4 separate regions of the Homo sapiens genome follow, and regions 1, 3 and 4 are each linked to region 2. Evidence: promoter capture Hi-C in 16 types of primary human blood cells and fetal thymus (Javierre and others, 2016). All regions are on one chromosome and are shown on one strand. Each heading gives the region's core, a stretch centred on a gene start or on the middle of the fragment in contact. The rest is flanking DNA. Distances are from core to core; before and after follow the strand shown. Region 1 overlaps BRWD1 (bromodomain and WD repeat domain containing 1). Region 2 holds the start of GET1 (guided entry of tail-anchored proteins factor 1). Region 3 overlaps BRWD1 (bromodomain and WD repeat domain containing 1). Region 4 holds the start of BRWD1-AS1 (BRWD1 antisense RNA 1).

Region 1 (4,660 bases), core at 755-3,254, 98 kb before region 2:
AAGGTGGAGATCTAGTCCTACTAGATATTAAAGCATATCACAGAGTGTTAATAATTAAAATGATCAGACAAAACAGGGTACACTGATAGAATGACCAATGGAAAAAATACAATCCAAAACTAGACCCTATTCAACCTGGGAAAGCTGACTGAAAAACTGGAAGGAAAAATGGGAGAAAACATGAATCCTAATCTAAGACTTAAGTACAATTAAGGTATTATCTCAAATCTGTTGGGCGAACAATGGATCACTGCATAAATGGTATTACAATTGTGCAGTAATCTGGAAAAAAACTAAGTCCATTCTTCAGACTACATCAGGATACATTCGAAATGGGTCAATGATTTAAATATTTTGAAAACAAAGCCATAAAATAAGGAAACACAGGAACTATACTGCAGCGCAACTTCAGAATAAGGCTAACATCTGTACTTAATAAAATACCAAAAGTGCTAAACAAGCAAGCTACAGAAAGGAAGATGAACTAGCTAGAGACATCTAGGAAGGATTAAATAGTAGGAAAATGCAAGGAAAACAAACACACACTAAGCAAAGGAATAATATCAGCACAAGTTCAAAAGCGAGGGGGAATATGGTATATGATAGAAACAAAGATCTATATGAACAAAGTGTTCATTTCTCAAAGTCATGCGGCAATGGGGTAAATGAATAGAGAATCTGGATGTAATCAAAGCAGCTTAAAGGGTAACTGTACTTTTCAAGTAAAAACACCAGAAGCAGCCAAACGATTTGTCTTACAGCAATATACAGTATTGATTGAAAAAGAAGAGGCAAGATGTAATAAAAAGCCAAGAGGGAACCCAGTTAATCTAAGAAGCAAGAAGCTTAACTGGAATACAGCTCCACCCTTCTCCCCCTAGAATGGGGAGGAAAGACCAAAAGAGAGGAGCATCAAAACTTGCTGACTCGCCCGAGTGCTGTGGCTCATGCCTGTAATCCCAGCGCTTTGTGGGGCCGAGGAGTGAGAATTGCTTGAGTCCAAGAGTTCAAGACCAGCCTAGGTGACATGGCGAAACCCTGTCTCTACAAAAAAATACAAAATTGTCCAGGCGTGATGACACACGGCTGTGATCCCAGTACTATGGGAGGCCAAGGCAGGCAGATCACTTGAGGTCAGAAGTTTGAGGCCAGCCTGGCCAACATGGTGAAACACCACCTCTACTAAAAATACAAAAATTAGCCGGGCATGATGTTGGATGCCTGTAACATAAAAAGTAGGCAGGAGTGGTGGCGGATGCCCATAATCCCAGCTACTCAGGAGGCTGAGGCAGGAGAATCGCTTGAATCCGGGAGGCAAAGGTTGCAGCAGGCTGAGATGGCGCCACTGCACTCCAGCCGGGACAACACAGCAAGACTCCTTCACCTACCAAAAAAAATATATATATATATGTATGTATGTATACATGTATATATATACGTATACATACATATACATGTGTATATATGTAGACATATATGTATACATATAAATACATGTATATAAATATGTATATATACACATATGTCAACATATACGTCTATGTATAAGTATATGTATGTACATATGTATATATACACGTATACGTATATATGGACATATACACATACGTATATAAACATATATATAAAATAAAATAAAAAATTAGCCAGGCATGGTGGCGCATGCTTGTAGTCCCAGCTACCCAGGAGGCTGAGGTTGCAAAGAGCCAAGATCACACCACTGCATTTCAGCCTGGGCAACAGAGTGAGACTCTGTCTCAAAAAGCAAACAAACTTGCTGACTCAAGAAACATTCAAGACAAAGAAGGAGCTTAGAAAAGAAAGACTAATAGTGCCATTAACAGAAAGCAAAGTAAGGAAGAAATTATGGATTTTTTTTAATGTTGAAAGTGATTGTTTATATCTAAGTAGATATGTTCCAGAATGTGGCCTAACATTGAGCTTTGCAGGCTATCTCATTAAAAGTAATGAGAAAAAGTAGTATAATTAAAGTTATATTAGTAGTTGGATATTTTTGTTAATTAAAATTGAAGATTCTTTTATTCCTTTGCTTTCTTAATAAACTTGCTTTCACTTTAAAAAAAATTTAAACACCTTCCACACTGAATTGCTAATTGGACAAAAAAATTTTTTTTTAATTAAAACATCAGAGTAAAACTCGCAACCTTGCAGAGTACTTTGAGAATTCTAGAGGCCAAGCACAGTTGCTCATGCCTGTAATCCCAGCACTTTGGAAGGCCAAGGCAGGTGGATCACCTGAGGTCAGGAGTTCAAGACCAGCCTGATCAACATGGTGAAACCCTGTCTCTACTAAAAATACAAAAAATTAGCCATGCATGGTGGTGGGCGCCTGTAATCCCAACTACTCGGGAGGCTGAGGCAGGAGAATCGCTTGAACCTGGAAGGCAGAGATTTCAGTGAGCTGAGATCGCACCACTGTACTCCAGCCTGGGCAACAAGAGCGGAACTCCGTCACAAAAAAAAAAAAAAAAAGGAATTCTAAACCTAACTGTCCATGAAAGAATATGTTTAAGTCACCTGTTCTAAATCAAATTTCCAGACAGATAAGCAATTTGTAGCTATTTCTGTCCCACTTATATCTTCATCTATTCATGGACTGATATATACTGTTTTCTTTATAACAGCTCTAAAACATTTTTATATCTCCAGCATGGCTAAACAATTCTTTGCTCTTCTTTCGCTGTCCGTGCTTATATAATTCTCTTTTAAATGAGCTTGATTGGCTGGCACAGTTCCATAAAAACAAAATCATTGGAATTTCAAATGTAAATACGCTGATTTTATAGCATAATCAGGAAAGATCTGACATATTTACAATACTGAATCTTCTGATTCAGGAACATGGTAGAGGTATTTTCACTTACTTAGACTATTTCCTTCCCCAACCCAAGACTCCGGTCAGTATTTTTAAGACCTTTCTTCATAAACATATTTCACATTTCCTGTTAAATTCATTCCTATGTGTTTGAGGGGTTTTGTTGCTATTACAAATTATACTCTTCTTCCATTGTATTTATTACTTCTTTATTGCTGGTGTACAATAAAGTTCTGGTTTTAAGACATGGGTCCTATATATATTTAACCATCGTATTAAGCTCTCAGCAGTTCTAACAAGTTTTAACAGAATTCACTAATGAAGCCTCTAAGCTTGAAGTTTTAAGAGTTGCGATTTGTTTTTGTTTTTTTAGTGTCCAACAGGTATTTTTAACTTCTGGGGGCTTCCTTTTACTGTTTCTAAATAGCAACATTTCATCAATTGCAGTATCACTGACATACAACCATGTTTTGTTATGCCCCCTCAAGGCCAGTCGCCAATGACTATAATATGTATTTCTGGATATTAAAAATAGTCTTGCTTTTTTTTTCTAAGATGGATTAGCTAAATCCTGCATAAAAGAAACAGTATGAACTATGATTTCTAAAAGTCTTCTTTGGCCTAGGATTTTAGGATTCCGTGCTACAATCTCATGTGTCTACTTCCAAAGTCCAAAGTATGCTTGAAATCTACACATTTTGAGTGACTACCTAGTATTTACCACAGGCTCATGAGCTTAAGAACGTCTACTTTTACAACTTGTTCAGTGGTAAAATAAGCACTCTTTAATATATGCTGATCCTCTCTTTTGCTATGAAAGAATGTATTATTTATTTTCTTTGGATATATAGCCAATCTTTTTTTGTGAAGAACCTCCAGCTGGGTAGGGTGGCTCATGCTTATAAAGCCCAGTGCTTTGGGAGGCCAATGGAGGAGGATTGCTTGAGGCCAGAAGTTCAAGACCAGCTTGTGAAACATAGCAAGACACTGTCTCTACAAAAAATTAAGAACTAACTAGATGACGTGGCACACACCTATAGTCCCAGCTACTCAGAAGGCTGAGGCAGGAGGATGACTTGAGCTCATAAGTTTGAGGCCAAGCGAGCTATGATTACACCACTGCACTCCAGCCTGGGCAACAGAGAGAGAACCTGCCTCTGGGGGAGGCGGGAGAACCTCCATACTGTTTCCCATAATAGTTGTACTAATTTACATTCTCACCAAAAGTGCATAAGAGTTCCCCTTTCTCCACATCCTTCCCAACATTTGTTATCCTTTGTCTTTTTGAGAACAGCCATTCTGACTGGGGTGAGGTAGTATCTCACTGTGGTTTTGATTTGCATTTTCCTGATAATTAGTGATGTTAAGCATATTTTCATATATCTGTCAGCCATTTGTATGTGTTCTTTTTAGAAATGTCTACGCAGGTCTTTTGCCCATTTTTTAACTGAATTTTTTTTCTATTGAGTTGAGTTCCTTATATGTTCTGGATATTAACTCTTTGTCAGATGCATAAAGTTTACAAGTACTTTCTCCTATTCTTCAGGTTGTCTCTTCGATCTATATTGTTTGTTTCCTTTGCTGTGCAGAAGCTTTGTAGTTTGATGTAATCCCATTTGTCTGTTTTTGCTTTTGTTCCCTATGCTTTTGGGTGTATATCCAAAGGGAAATGAAATCAGTATATTGAAGAGATAATTGCACTCCCATGTTTACTGCAGTGCCATTCACAATAGTCAAGACATGAATCAACCTAAACACCCATCTACAGATGAATGAACAAAGAAAATGCCGTGTGTCCGTGTATACACACACACAAAATGGAAC
Region 2 (4,946 bases), core at 459-2,958:
TCTTTCTTTCTTTCTTTCTTTCTTTCTTTCTTTCTGTCTCTCTCTCTCTCTTTCTTTCTTTCTTTCTTTCTTTTTCTCTTTCTCTTTCTCTCTTTCTTTCTTTCTTGACAGAGTTTCACTCTTGTCACCCAGGCTGGAGTGCAATGGTGCGATCTCAACTCACTGCAACCTCCGCCTCCCAGGTTCAAGCGATTCTCCTTCTTCTGCCTCCTGAGTAGCTGGGACTACAGGTGCCCGCCACCACACCCAGCTAATTTTTGTATTTTTAATAGAGACAGGGTTTTGCCATGTTGGTCAGGCTGGTCTCGAACTCCTGACCTTAGGTGGTCCACCTGCCTCGGCTTCCCAGAGTGCTGGGATTACAGGCTTGAGCCACTGTGCCCAGCCGCATAATTATTTTAACTGGTTCATAATAATGAGCCAGAGTTGTGCTCTGTCGCCCAGGCTGGAGTCCAGTGGTGTGATCACAGCTCACTGCAGCCTCGACCTCCCAGGCTCAGGCGATCCTCTCATCTCAGCCTCCCTAGTAGCTGAGGCCACAGGCACGTGCCACAGTGCCCGGCTAATTTTTATATTTTATTGTAGAGATGGGGATCTCACTATGTTACCCAGACTGGTTTCAAACTCCTGGGCCTGTGATCCACCTTGCTTGGATCTCCCAAAGTGCTGGGATTACAGGCGTGAGCCAGTGTACCCGCAATCTTGCATCATTTTGATTAGGAATTAGTCCTCAGAAACCAGTCATGGCAGCATGGCAGAAGAGACAGTTGAACATGTCTTGCTTTATCCACTAGGCATACTTTTTTTTTTTTTTGAGACGGAGTCTCGCTCTGTCGCCAGAGCTGGAGTGCAGTGGCGCGATCTTGGCTAACTGCAACCTCCGTCTTCCGGGTTCAAGCGATTCTCCTGCCTCAGCCTCCGGAGTAGCTGGGACTACAGGCGCGCGCCACCACGCCCGGCTAATTTTTGTATCGTAGAGACGGGGTTTCACCATGTTGGCCAGGCTGGTTTCAATCTCTTGACCTCATGACCTGCCCGCCTCGGCCTCTCAAAGTGCTGGGATTACAGGCGTGAGCCACCTCGCCCTGCTCACTTTGCATACATTTGAGTTGGGATTCTTTCGCTGCAAAACCTGATCTTCACCTAGATTCAGGTTAATTTATTAACTATTACTAATGATTGTGAACAGTGCATTCTATTAAACTTATTTTTCAGGTATGCAGTTGTGTAAATTGGTTAGACTTACTACAGTGTTTAGATCTGGAACGAAAACGTAAGGCATTTTCCATGTAACTGCTTGGAACACGACAGTTACCTGCTACTATAAAAACGGTAGTTTTCTATTTATGGAAGAGTTTTTCTTAAACTTATCTAGAATTAAAAGTTAATTTAAAGAAAGTACTAATTATGACAAAAGCAGGGAGTCGTTAGCACTTGAAACCAGAGTTTGGTACTATGAGAAGGTTTTTAATTTTAAAAAGAAGGAAAAAAAGAAACACGGACGTCAGAAAACTGGTTCAGTAGGGATGGGTGCTAGAAGGCTACGGAACCGCCGAAGGCCCAGGAGAAACCCGGAACGTGTTAACCGCTCCAACTGGAGCCGGACGAAAAAACGGCCCCGCCTCCCGCGAGGGCGACGCAGTTCGCAGGCGCGTCGGCGCGCCTGTTCTGGGGCGCTTGGCTTCACCGCGCAGGCGCGGTCGCCGCTGTTGTTGTGGTCCCCATGGAGCTGCCGTAGCGGACCCAGCACAGCCAGGAGCGTCCGGGATGAGCTCAGCCGCGGCCGACCACTGGGCGTGGTTGCTGGTGCTCAGCTTCGTGTTTGGATGCAATGTTCTTAGGATCCTCCTCCCGTCCTTCTCATCCTTCGTAAGTGGCTGCCTGGCCTCCCAAGGGCCGGTGGGGATGCCGCCCCAGTCCCCCGGCGGGTCTGGCGTAGGTACAGGGGTCTCAACTGGGCGACTGAAGGCCGTAGTAGCGTCTTGGTTGGTCCGTAAGCTTTTTTGAGATAGTTGTTAGCGTCTAAAAGGTACGACGCTTTACCCCAAAATCAGACTTTCTGGGTTCTAGGGGGTTGGGAGAAACACCGGGCAACCCTGGACTCTTCTGGCTGTGGGTGGCGGCGGCGAACCTCACACTGGGAGTTCCTAGTGCCCCGCTGTCAGCCTCGTTTCCGTTAATCCTGGTTCCTAGAGGCATTCGAGCAGCCCTCGGCCAGGGTTTCCCAGAGGCCTGGCGGGCGAAGTCAGCTGTTCCAGGTCCCGGAGAGATGGATCCTCGCGTCCAGGAGCCCACATTCTTGGGGTGGGTAGGGTGGGAGACAGGTGTAGAGAGAATCTCAGTACAGCGTGATGCCTTCAGTATCCAAGGGAGCAACCAGGTTGGGGAACACTCTCTTTCTGCCAGGTAGTGAGTACATTACCTCTGTCTCACGGCTGCTGGGAGAGGCGAGTATTATCATCCCACCCTCCTTTACCTCCCGGAGGAGTCTGGCTCAAGAGAATTTAGTGGTGGCACTAAGTCATCCACCTAGTGACTGGAGGTGGAGATTTGATTGCCTTTTGGAGCAGGGATAGGGATTTGGTGGCAAATTGGACAGGGCGTGGTGGGGTGTGGCCATGGAAGGCGGGGGTACCTTGGGAACTGTCCCCGAGAATGAGCGCCCTCCGTATGCCCACAGCAGAAATGAGGAGCTGTTGGGCAAAGGCGGAGTCCTCAAAGATTGGGCGCATTCGTTTCAGCGTTGTCTTGGAAAACAGTTCTTGCTTTTCTCTCCTAAGATAAATTGGTAGTAGTGGAGGATATTTTATTCCACCAGTATTCATTGAGTGCCTGTTTTGTGCAAAACTCTATTCTTACTCTCTCAATTGTCCTACTGTCTGCATTGTCCTGAGATATAGGGAATTCTCTTTTAACCCCTGAGTCTCCTTCAGAATCTTTCCTGATGCTATCCAGTCTTTAAGATGATGTCTCAGGCATTGCATAAAAGACTCCTGATGAGCTGGCCCATGCTCATCTTCTTGTTTTTAATTGTAAAATACACATAATATGAAGTTTATCATCTTTATCATTTTTAGGTGTACAGTTCAGTGGCATTAAGTACATTCACATTTTTGTGCAACCATTATCCCAGAACTTTATTATTATTATTTTAAGACAGGGTCTGGCTCTGTGCAGTGGTGTAATCTCGACTCATTGCAACCTCTGCCTCCCAGGTTCAAGTGATCCTCCCACCTCAGCCTCCCAAGTAGCTGGGACCACAGGCATGCACCACCACGCCCAGGTATTTTTTTGTATTTTTAGTAGAGACAGAGCTTTGCCATGTTGGCCAGGCTGGTCTCAAACTCCTGACCTCAAGCCATCCACCCATCCTGGCCTCCCAAAGTGCTGGGATTACAGGTGTGAACCACTGCACGTGGCCCCGCTCCCAGAACATTTTCTTTTTTTTTTTTTTTGAGACAGAGTCTCACTCTGTTGCCTATGTAGGAGTGCAGTGGCCTGATCTTGGCTCACTGCAGCCTCCACCTTCCAGGTTCAAGCGATTCTCCTGCCTCAGCCTCCCAGGTAGCTGTGATTACCAGTACCTGCCACCATGCCCGGCTAATTTTTGTATTTTTAATAGAGACGGGGTCTCACTATGTTGCCCAGGTTGGTCTCAAACTCCTGACCTCAAGTGATCTGTGCTCCTTGGCCTCCCAAAGTGCTAGGATTACAGGCGTGTGCCACCACGCCTGGCCCCATCCCAGAACTTTTTTTATCTCCTCTAACCGAAACTCTCGCACTCATTAAACAACAACTTTCCATTCCTACCTCTCCCTGGCAATCACCATTGTACTTTCTGCCTCTGTGAATTTGACTACTCTTGGGACCTCATATAAGTGGAATCAGACAGTATTTTTCCTTTTGTGACTGGCTTCTTTTCACTCAGCATAATATCCTTAAGGTTCATCCATGGTGTATCATGAGTCAGGATTTCCTCCCCTTTTAAGGCTGAATAGTATCCCATTGTATGTATAGGCCACATTTTGTTTATTAGTTCATCTGTCTATGGACACTTGGGTTGTTTCTACCTTTTGACTATTGTAGATAATGCTAAAATGTTTACAAATATCTCTTTGAGTCTCTGCTTTCAGTTTTTCTGGACATATACCCAGCAGTGGAATTCCTGAATCTATGGTAATTCTATGTTGAATTTTTTTGAAAAACCACCATACTGTTTTCCATAGCAGCCACACCATTCGACATTCTCACCAGCAGTGCAGAAGGGTTCCAGTTGCTCCATATCCTTCAACATGTATTTTGTTTTCTTATTTATTTATTCTTTTTATTTTTTTATTTATTTTTATTTTTTGAGATGGAGTCTTGCTCCGTTGCCCAGGCTGGAGTGCAGTAGCGCAGTCTCGGCTCACTGCAAGCTCCGCCTCCCGGGTTCACACCATTCTCCTGCCTCAGCCTCCCGAGTAGCTGGGACTACAGGTGCCCACCACCACCACAACCGGCTAATTTTTTTGTATTTTTAGTAGAGACGAGGTTTCACCGAATTAGCCAGGATGGTCTCGATCTCCTGACCTTGTGATCTGCCCGCCTTGGCCTCCCAAAGTGCTGGGATTACAGGCTTGTGCCACCGCGCCCAGCCTATTTTTTTTTTTATTATTTATTTTATTTTGTTTATTTATTTTTTGAGACAGAGTCTTGCTCTTGTTGCCCAGGCTGGAGTGCAATGGCGCAATCTCAGCTCACTGCAACCTCTGCCCCCCGAGTTCAAGAGATTCTCCTGCCTCAGCTTCCCAAGTAGCTGGGATTACAGGTGCCCGCCACTATGCCCGGCTAATTTTTGTATTTTTAGTAGAGACGAGGTTTCACCATGTTGGCCAGGCTGGTCTCGAACTCCTGATCTCCGGTGATCTGCCCACCTTGGCCTCCCAAAGTGCTGGGATTACAGGTGT
Region 3 (4,988 bases), core at 1,550-4,049, 81 kb before region 2:
TTTGATACTTATTACTATTAAAACAACATTTCAACCAGTATTTCCTTTTAAATTTTAATACAGCATTTATAAAGGTTGTTGAGAAATTTAAAAACAATTATTTCAGGCATCTCAAAGGCCAACCTTACTTACCAAGATTTGGTGGGGAACCATAATTCACTGGCATTTCAGGAGGTCTTCCTCTATGAAGAGCAGCAAAGGCAGAGCCCTTCCAAACTGTGTGCCTGCAGTCTTTAAAATGAATTTTAGATACACATAAAATCTTGAAAGTTAACCCCAAGAAAGATTTTATAGAATACTTACGTATATTGTAATAAACTGTTTATTCAACATTTTACCAACTAGTATACTTTAACAGAAAAGCCCTGGAGGTTTATTAGACTATTTCTGAAGAAAAAGAAAATTAAGACATCTCAGATACAGCAGCAACAACAACTAACATTTGTGTAGCACTTTACAATTCACAAAGTGCTTTCAACATACATTAGCTCATTGAATCCTCACAACAACCCTGTGAGGTAGGTATTTTTGCCAATTTACAAGTGAGGTAACTGAGGCTCAAAGGTTCCAGGACCTTTAAAGAGATCCACAGCAAATGATTGGTAAAAGATGGACCATAAAACCAGATCTTTTGACTCCAAGTCCCATTTAATGCCAAGTGTTTATTTTTCAATGTAGAATTATATCATACAATACTAAAGATGAAAGGTCTTACAACTGATCCAACTTTTCAAAAATGGAAGCTTTTATAAGGAAAAAGTTCTTTGATTTATATGAAAATTCATGACTTGTTCAGTTTTAAAATTAATTTGGCCAATACTACCATGACTTTAGTCTCTATCTTTAGGAAGTACCAATAAATTATATAGCTTTCCCTTCATTGTAGGATCACAGAAAATCCTCTACTGAAGAGCACATACGTAGGATCTGTGACTCTGAACACTAATTCAAAGTCCATCCCTCCTTGACCTACCAGCAAATGCACTAAGAAAAAAAAGTCTGCCCTCCTCTATAGGAGATAGCAGCAGAACATAGGTTTGAAGCAGTCACACTGTGCCAGAAATTAGTTTCTTCATAACTCAAAGAAGAAAGGGAAGGCATCATACTAAACCTCTACTGAGCCTCGGGTGCCCCAAACTAACAGACATATTGCATTTTACATGAATGGATTCATTACCACTATCATGACCAAAGAGCAGTTACAAGGCATCCTCCTGGGGTACCAGTACAAAACAAACAGAGAATACGCCCCTACCCTAGGGCAGCTTGCTGAAGACTCTTCTAAGGTCTGGCCAGTTCTAAATCACTGCTCATCACAAAACAACGACATGGAGCTTGACACAAGTAAAGAAAACAAAGGAAAACAGGCTACCAATTAACTACCATATAACCAGCTAAAATAGAATAATTACAAAGTGAATAGGGACACAGAAGAGGAAGAATATAAACAGTGTCCTGATTAGTGCCACAGGGTGACATGGCTAGAGCACTAAGAAACAACTAAAGCTAACAAACCAGTCTGGCACGGAACTAAGAGGGAGGGGTGTTCTTTCTCAGTTAAGCTTTATACTGGTGGTGCAGCTAAGAGTAGCATCACATCAGCAATAGCTCGTAATAAAAAATAATCATGGGATGAACTTGATGTATACTCAGCATCAGAAGAACCAACAATCTTTGCCCATTAGCAGTTTAGCCACATGTACACATATATTATATCACATACATATACTTAGTCTAAGTCATATATACCAAGCTAACAGAAAAAGAATAGCAATTTCAAACATTTTGCTAGCACATAACTTGGCAAAAAAATTAAATTAGTAAAAAAAGAACCATGCAGTTTTACATTTGTGGTGCTTGTTTTCAAGCTGCTACCAAATTTAGAAAATCACTTCCCTTTATAACAAAGGGCTTTCAGAAGCTAAATATCAAATGAAATACCTCTAGCATTTAAAGAGTTTATTAGACACATACAATTACATTCAATGAAGTTATGAGTGAGCTACAAAATGGAAAATTAAGAACTCACATTGATAAAACCTCAAACAACATCTCAGAATAAATTCAAGCTTTTTAGCTTAACATCTATATCTTTATCAACTTTTTAATGCAGAAGGACCCATTAAACACTTATGTAATAAAATTCAATGTTCTATGCTAAATGCAGAGAATTTTATAGTCCACAGCATGATTTATAGTTACATTATCACCTTTCTTCCACAATGCTTACATTACTTCACAATTATAATAATTATTAGGCTATTAATACAAAGCAGAACACTTCTTCAAATTAAGGTACCTTTTGCTGTACGTAGCAAAGACTGCCTTCCTGCACCAAGTAAAGAAGTGACTCTTGAAATACTGGGTGGAATTTCTTTATCCAACATAGGACCGATGCGCTGGCAGATTTGCAAAAGATGATCAGGAGCCACATGCTTATTGGACAAGACCTAGTTGGAGAGCAAGTTTTAATGACAACAGCTTAATAATATCAAAAACTATTAAATACTTAGGGATAAGTCTGGCAAAATGTGAAAAACATACACTGAAAACTGTAAAACATGCTGAGAGAAATTAAAGACGACTTAAATAAACAATAAGCTGATCTACAGATTTGAGCTACAGATTCAAACCTGTAACACTCAAAACTTCAGCAACATTTTTTTTTGTAGAAATTGACAATTTTGTTCTAAAATTTATATGCAAATGACCTGGAAAAGCACCTCTGAAAAAGAAAAAAGGTTGCAGAGCTAACAAAACTTAATCTCAAGACTTGAAATCAAGACTTTACTCAAAATTGCACTAACTGGGCCAGGGATGGTGACTCACACCTGTAATCTCAGCACTTTGTAAGGCCAAGGCAGGTGGATCACTTGAGATCAGGAGTTCGAGACCAGCCTGACCAACATGGTGAAACCCCATCTTTACTAAAAATACAAAATTAGCCAGGCATGGTGGTGCACACCTGTAGTCCCAGCTACTTGGGAGGCTGAGGCAGGAGAATCACTTGAACCCAGGAGGTGGAGGTTGCAGTGAGCTGGGATCGTGCCATTGCACTCTAGCCTGGGCAACAAGAAAAAAATATATATACATATTACGCTAACTCGCCTGTCTCAAAAAAAAAAAAATATATATATATGCTAACTGGCCTGTAAGTGAAGCATACATCTTTGAGAGAGATGTTAAGATATCAAAGATCCTATAAGACATCATTTAGTATCTAAATCATGGATAACTGGTTCTCAACAACATACTAGGCAGTAAAAAACATTAATTCTTTCAGTAAGTACTGACAGCCTATTAGGTGCCAGGAGCCATAAGTGGATATACCTATGGATTACTATAGACAAATATATGTCTGTTATAATTTTAAATGAAAAATAATCATTTATTTACTCCAACGTAAGAGATAAAAGATATTGCTCTCATCTCGACAATGAGAATAGGCTGGATAAACTTTAAAAAATGTATAAACCCATCACAGCTGAAGAAACAAAGAAAAATCTACATTAACTAATCCCACAAAGTACAAGCTTTTCTGGGAACAGAAAAGGGACTCAGGCTGGGCACGGTGGCTCACGCTTGTAATCCCAACACTTTGGGAGGCCGAGGCAGGTGGATCACTAGAGGTCAAGAGCTCGAGACCAGCCTGGCGGAAATGGTGACATCCCATCTCTACTAAAAAAAAAAAAACACAAAAATTAGCTGGGTGTGGTGGTAGGCGCCTGTAATCCCAGCTACTTAGGAGGCTGAGGTATGAAATCACTTGAACCTGGGAGGCGGAGGTTGCAGTGAACCAAGATCATGCTATAGCACTCCACAGCCTGGGCGACAAGAGTGAAACTCCATCTAAAAAAAATAAAGTTAAAGAAAAGGGACTCATAGCTGCTTACACCCCTAGCAGAGAGGCAGGAAGAACTGACCTCAGAAAAGAATAAGAAAAAACCACTCAAACCTCTAACAAACTTAATGGCTACTTGTGGCCGGCATGACTGATTAGAATCCTAAGGCGCCTCAGTTACAGTGAGTCTGCACACCTACCACAATTTTTTCCCATAGGCCTTCACCAACTGCATAGGGCCCAAACACTAAAGCCAGGGCAGCCCTGGAAGAAATGCACTGTAGTGGCCCTCCTAAGGCTAGAGATAGGACAACAGGGTGGAGAATGATCTCTTCTGACATGGAAAGCCTAGAGCAGGACGGCAAGGCAGAGCGAACTCTGTAGCAACCTAAAAAGTTGGCAGTCAGGTACAAAGTAGAAAAAGATCTCACAAAGTTTGGAAAGGTGGCAACTCCAGTGTAAAAAATAAGACATCTCAGAAATTTCATGAGGGCCAAATGTCAAACTCTGCTGGAAGGGAAAGTATTGATGCCACCCTCAAAGCATGGAAAGCCAGTGATTTACTGAATGTAACAAAGCTCAGAGATGATCAATTACAAATTAGATTGACCCTGTCTCACACACTAACTGCTTGAGAAAAGAGCACATCTTTACCAGAGGTAAATACATTACTGCAGCCTCTACTCTTTACACAAAAAGTTACAGCATACCTCAAAAAAATGATGAGATACACAACAAAGCTAGATATATGACCCATGGTCAAGAGGGGAAATGGTCAATAGAAGCAGACCTAGAGATGGCCCAGATGTTCAAAAATGCTTAGCTGTTATTTCTTCAAACTACTTCTCCCCTCTATCCTTTCCACTTGGGACTTTAATTACACATTAAACTATTTGATATCATACCACTTATTCAAAAAGCTCAGAGAACCCAAGAAAAATAAATGCAAAGAAAACCCACTTTGGGAGGCCAAGGCGGGCAGATTACGAGGTCAGGAGATCGAGACCATCCTGGCTAACACGGTAAAACCCTGTCTCTACTAAAAATACAAAAAAATTAGCCAGGCGTGGTGGCAGGTGCCTGTAGTCCCAGCTGCTGGGGAGACTGAGGCAGGAGAATGGCGTGAACCCAGGAGGCAGAGCTTGCA
Region 4 (4,884 bases), core at 173-2,672, 65 kb before region 2:
ACCCAGCCACATCCCCCACAAGCCAGCAGCCCGGCAGAAAATTACATAAAATGCAGCGCTTCGCCGAGGGGGTGCGAGTCGGGGGAGCAGCGCGCAGCTGCGGCTGACGGCTCGGCTGGATCCATCCAAGCATGGACAGGAAAACGGGACTGTGGGGAGAGGGTGGTGCAGACGGGCCGCAGACCCTCCTTAGGAAGAGAAGCCGGAAACTAGGGAGTCATGTGCAGTTAGAATCCTCTTGGAAGACTAGTAGGATGTGAGGTTGGAGAGGTGGACGACGACCAGAAAATTCCCTTGTCTTGCCAGGCTTCTGACCTAACTATGAGTTTCCTCCGCGCATCCAGCCTGCCCTGCTCTGGCCCCTAAAGTACAGCAGTAACACTCAGTGGTGTCCCTGCCTTCCTGGAATGCGCGTTAACAATTCTGATTCTTACTCATGGCAATAACCTACACACCACATAGACGTTAAATGTGGTTCGGGTCAGACTCTAGGGCAGGACTCACTGCCTGCACCTTGTCTTGGCTCCACCAGCTTGACCTTGAGCAAGTCACAACCTGTGGGTCTCAGTGTTCCTTACTAGTAAACCGTAGGTAATTCCTCACTAGTAAACAGATAATATTTGTGCCTGTCTCAAAGTTGTGAGGATTTAATGAATTTGTGTTCCTGGTATACAGTAAGCACCGTGTACAAGTTGGCTTTTATTTACACCAAATAGCAAAAGCTTTTATTTATTTTGAGACAGGGTCTTGCTCTCAGGCTGGAGTGCAGTGGCGCGATCTCACCTCACTGCAACCTCTGCCTCCCGGGTTCCAGCGATTCTTGTGCCTCAGCCTCCCGAGTAGCTGGAATTGCAGGCAAGCGCCACCACGTCCGGCTAATTTTTATATTTTTATATTTTTAGTAGGGACGGGTTTCACCATGTTGGCCAGGCTGGTCTCGAACTCCTGGCCTCAGGTGATCCACCCGCCTTGGCCTCCCGAAGTGCTGGGGATTACATGCATGAGCCACTGCGCCTGGCCAAAAGCTTTTATATATATTTATAAATGGACATAGATATCTGTGAGGCTGTCGGGTATGGTGGCTCACGCCTGTAGTCCCAAGCACTTTGGGAGGCCGAGGCAGGCGGATCACGAGGTCAGGAAATCAAGACCATCCTGGCCAACATAGTGAAACCCCCGTCTCTACTAAAAATAAAAAAATTAGCCAGGTGTGGCAGTGCGCGCCTCTAGTCCCAGCTACTTGAGAGGCTGAGGCAGGAGAATCGCTTGAACCCCGGAGGCGGAGGCTGCAGTGAACCGAGATCGCGCCACTGCACTCCAGCCTGGGCGACAAGGCGAGACTCCGTCTCCAAAAAAAAAAAGCTATTTGTGAGGTAACAATCTAAATATGTTTGAGCTAGTGCAACAGTAAGTTAACTCCTTACATCTGTTAATTCAGCAAGCACTAACAAGTGATGGAGATTAAAAAAAAAAAAGGAATGAGCCACAGCTTTGCCATCAAAGACTTCAGCGTCTCTTAGGGGAAACAGATGTAAGCAAATAATGACACGATTTAGGGCAGAGATATATCAGAAGATCAGCTTGCCTGTGCGTGGGGGAAATGTTAGGGAAGTTTGGGTTATCCAGGCTACAATGTGTGGAAAGGGATTTCGCACATACAAACAACAGAGGGCCAAGACATGAATATGATTTCTAGTTTAAGGAACCAGAAGTTTAGTATGACTACTTGGGGTGACTTTGGAGAGGATGGGACCATGATGTCAGAAGTTGAAATTGGGAGCAATTGAAAGATTCTAAGCCAGGAAGGAATCATTTTCTATTTTAGGATGGATTTGAGAAAGTTAAGACCAAGAGGCACTTAACATACCCCTGAAATAGAAAAGAAATGATGCATGAGGGCGTTGGTCATAAGGATAGAGAAGAGACAAGATCAGAAGTATGTAGGACAGTAAATCTGCAAGATGAAGTTGGGGTGAAATAAAAACCACAAAAATCTCGTTTGGGGCTTTCCAAGGTTGTGCCAACAAATAAGGTAGGGCATACAGGCTGGTAGCTAGATTGTTAAGATGAGTAACTGCTTGCAACAACTTGATTATTTGAAGTTACAGTGCATAGATGACTGTGGGACAGTGATCTGATGCTGCAAGATTACCAGTGTTACCAAATGACAAAGACATCAAGAGGGGAGAATTTAAACTTTCAATGATTGACCAAGGAGTTGTGCATTTCATTTTGTAACAAGGGCGTAAGATTAAAAACCCCCTAAAGATATTACAAGAATTTATATCCCAAGCTCTGGTCATTGTCCAAAATTATCGTTCTGATACTGGCACCATGATAACCATTACAAGAGATCAGAAATGATGACACGAGCCCAGACACAGTGGCTCACACCTGTAATCCCAGCGCTTTGGGAGGCCAAGGCCAGAGGACTGCTTGAGCCCAGGAGTTCGAGACCAGCCTGAGTAACATAGTAAGACCCCATCTCTACAAGAAATAAAAAATAGCCAGGGGTGGTAGGTGTGTACCTGTAGCCCCAGCTACTTAAGAGGCTGAGGCATGAGAATGGCTAGAGCCGGGGGGGATTGACGCTGCAGTGACCCATGATCACAGCACTGCTCTCCAGCCTAGGCAGCAGAGCAAGACCCTGTCTCAAAAAAAAGACACGATGACATGAGTTTTCCTTTACAAGAGCCTTGGGAGTCCTTTTACAACTTACTATCACATTCATGACAAATATTCTTTCTAAATTTTGAATAGGAACAAAGATTTCTAACAAGAGAGAGAATATCTTCCCGATTCGACTCCCATATGTCAAGAGACTCAGATGTGACTCATATTTGCCTGCCAGGAGGAGGAAAAAGAAATACACTGTCCAGGAGCAACTCCTTAGTGGGTACCCACCAGAAGTGGTCTCCAAACAAGGCAAGAATCTGTGTATTCCTCACACAATTCAATCCCAGCCATTCCATATGTACACACTGAGGTTTGCTTTTGGGTAAATGGAAATAACTTTAGAGTTTCACCACAAGAAAGCTACATGGTAAGCAAGTGTTGGAAAATCTTAACAGTGGGTGACATTAAGCTATAGGGTTGCATTTTCAAGGGAACCAACATCTTATGCCGTGGCAAGCAACTCCTGACTGGATAAACAGCTCTTAGATGTCATTGATAGGCTCAAGCTGAGGCGCAGAGGAAGTATGGCCCAAGGGCATATAGCTGGTAAGTGGTGGCTGGACTGCAATCCCAAGTAGACAGTATTATCTTAGACTGAAACACAAACACTGCAAAGTCCATTCTCCCTTGGCCACGTTTCACAAAAGAGGAAATGGGACCTGAAAATTAGGAGACTTACACAGGATTGCACAGCTAGCGCATCAGAGAGCTGACATTTGGAAGCCCACGTGATAAGTACGTGTGTAATCTCATTTACCGCAGGCAACTCTTAGATTCTGTTATTCCCATTTTAAGAATGAGGAAACTAGTCTGGGCGTAGTGGCTCTCGTCTGTGCTATCAGCACTTTGGAAGACCAAGGCAGGAGGACCGCATGAGCCCAGGAGTTCAAGGCTGGTCTTAAACATAGTGAGACCCTCTCTCTACAAAAAATTAAAAACTTAGTCCATGCATGGTGTTGGGTGACTGTAGTTTGAGCTATTTGGGGAGACTGAGGCAGGAGATCACTTGAGCCCAGGAGTTTAAGGCTGTCACAAGCTATGGTGGTACCACTGTGCTCCAGCCTGGGCAACAGAGCGAGACCCTGTCTCAAAAAAGAATGAGGAACTAAGGCTAATAAAGTTTAAGAATTTGCCTAAAAATGGAAAGCTTTTTTTTTTAATCTGTCTGTGAATGAGAGGAAAATAAAATTCAGTAAGGCCTTCCAAATCACCACTTAGGAAGCCCAACAACGTTAAATATGAATGCATATCTAGAAAATGGTGACCAAAGAAGTCTGGTTCCAACAATTCACATAAGAGAGTGGTCAAAATGGAATGAATTAGTAGATTAGAGTCCATTTCAAAAGACTCTGAAAAATGAGATAAGGAAATCTGTGAGCAATGGAGAACATGCAAAACAACTCAGATACCTAATCCAAAGCCTAATATTAGTTTTAATGCAAATTTGTGTTAACTGAATTTAGGTTCATTCAGGAGGCTGTGCTGATGTTGATGTACACACAACATCAGCATACCTCTGAAGGGCAGGAAGTAGATGACGTTGGACCTCCAGAACACTATACCACAAACTGGATCAGCACCTAGAGGTGAAATTAAATGCACACAAAAACCTGGATCACTTCATTCATTCATTCAACAAAATATGTGTTAAAAGTCTTCCCTGGCTCCTGGGCTGTTTTTTGTTTTGTTTTTTTCCGCTTTAGAGACAGTATGTCATTCTGTCACACAGGCAGGAGTGCAGTGGTACAGTCAGAGCTCACTGCAGCCTCGCAGTCCTACCGCTGAGTACTTGAGACTACAGGTGTGCACCACCATGCCTGGCTAATTTTTTACTGTTTTTTAGAGATGCGGGTCTTGCTCTGTTGCCCAGGCTGGTCTCAAACTCCTGGCCTCAAGTGATCCTCCCGCCTTGATCTTCCTGGACTTCTGTTGGATAAATTCCCTAGGAAGAGGAGAGTTAACACTTCGATAGATTTTATTTATTTATTTATTTTTTAGAGACAGGGTCTCACTGCATTGCCTGGCCTTAAGTGACCCTCCTGTCTTGGCCTTCCAAAGTGCTGGGATTACAGGCGTGAGCCACCACACCTGGACTTTGATCGATTTTTGGAGGACTTTCAAAGTAAAAATGAAGAAGGTATCTGATCTTTTGATAAGCCCTTAGTCACTAGTAGATATTATATTGCATTTAATTCCTGATGCCCTTCC

What was found. The method cuts DNA at HindIII sites, captures the fragments that hold promoters and counts their contacts. A CHiCAGO score of 5 or more calls a contact.
Region 1: a fragment that was not itself captured here is called in contact with the fragment with the promoter of GET1 in region 2 in 3 of 17 cell types (total CD8 T cells, naive CD4 T cells and non-activated CD4 T cells); the score reaches 9.0 in total CD8 T cells.
Region 3: a fragment that was not itself captured here is called in contact with the fragment with the promoter of GET1 in region 2 in 2 of 17 cell types (total CD8 T cells and naive CD8 T cells); the score reaches 6.9 in total CD8 T cells.
Region 4: the fragment with the promoter of BRWD1-AS1 here is called in contact with the fragment with the promoter of GET1 in region 2 in 17 of 17 cell types (monocytes, total CD8 T cells, M0 macrophages and 14 more); the score reaches 21.8 in monocytes.

Annotation. Positions count from the first base shown.
Region 1 is chr21:39,280,484-39,285,143 of GRCh38, forward strand. The region is part of intron 8 of BRWD1 (bromodomain and WD repeat domain containing 1); the gene reads right to left. Among named protein-coding and RNA genes, the nearest start is that of BRWD1, 31 kb to the right of the region's middle. The HindIII fragment of the contact is 2,323 bases long and covers 844-3,166 here.
Region 2 is chr21:39,378,618-39,383,563 of GRCh38, forward strand. GET1 (guided entry of tail-anchored proteins factor 1) reads left to right here and starts at 1,709. Exons shown (of 5, transcript NM_004627.6): 1 at 1,709-1,869. The coding sequence starts at 1,768. It overlaps GET1-SH3BGR (GET1-SH3BGR readthrough), which reads left to right and starts at 1,709. Exons shown (of 14, transcript NR_146618.2): 1 at 1,709-1,869. The HindIII fragment of the contact is 3,691 bases long and covers 1-1,996 here.
Region 3 is chr21:39,296,133-39,301,120 of GRCh38, forward strand. It overlaps BRWD1 (bromodomain and WD repeat domain containing 1), which reads right to left. Exons shown (of 41, transcript NM_033656.4): 5 at 2,300-2,450; 6 at 133-231. Among named protein-coding and RNA genes, the nearest start is that of BRWD1, 15 kb to the right of the region's middle. The HindIII fragment of the contact is 1,464 bases long and covers 2,068-3,531 here.
Region 4 is chr21:39,314,285-39,319,168 of GRCh38, forward strand. BRWD1-AS1 (BRWD1 antisense RNA 1) reads left to right here and starts at 1,423. Exons shown (of 3, transcript NR_046655.1): 1 at 1,423-1,531; 2 at 2,761-2,925. It overlaps BRWD1-AS2 (BRWD1 antisense RNA 2), which reads left to right. Exons shown (of 1, transcript NR_111942.1): 1 at 1-631. It also overlaps a transcript of BRWD1 not described here. RefSeq lists enhancers at 141-836, 837-1,531. The HindIII fragment of the contact is 2,798 bases long and covers 1,024-3,821 here.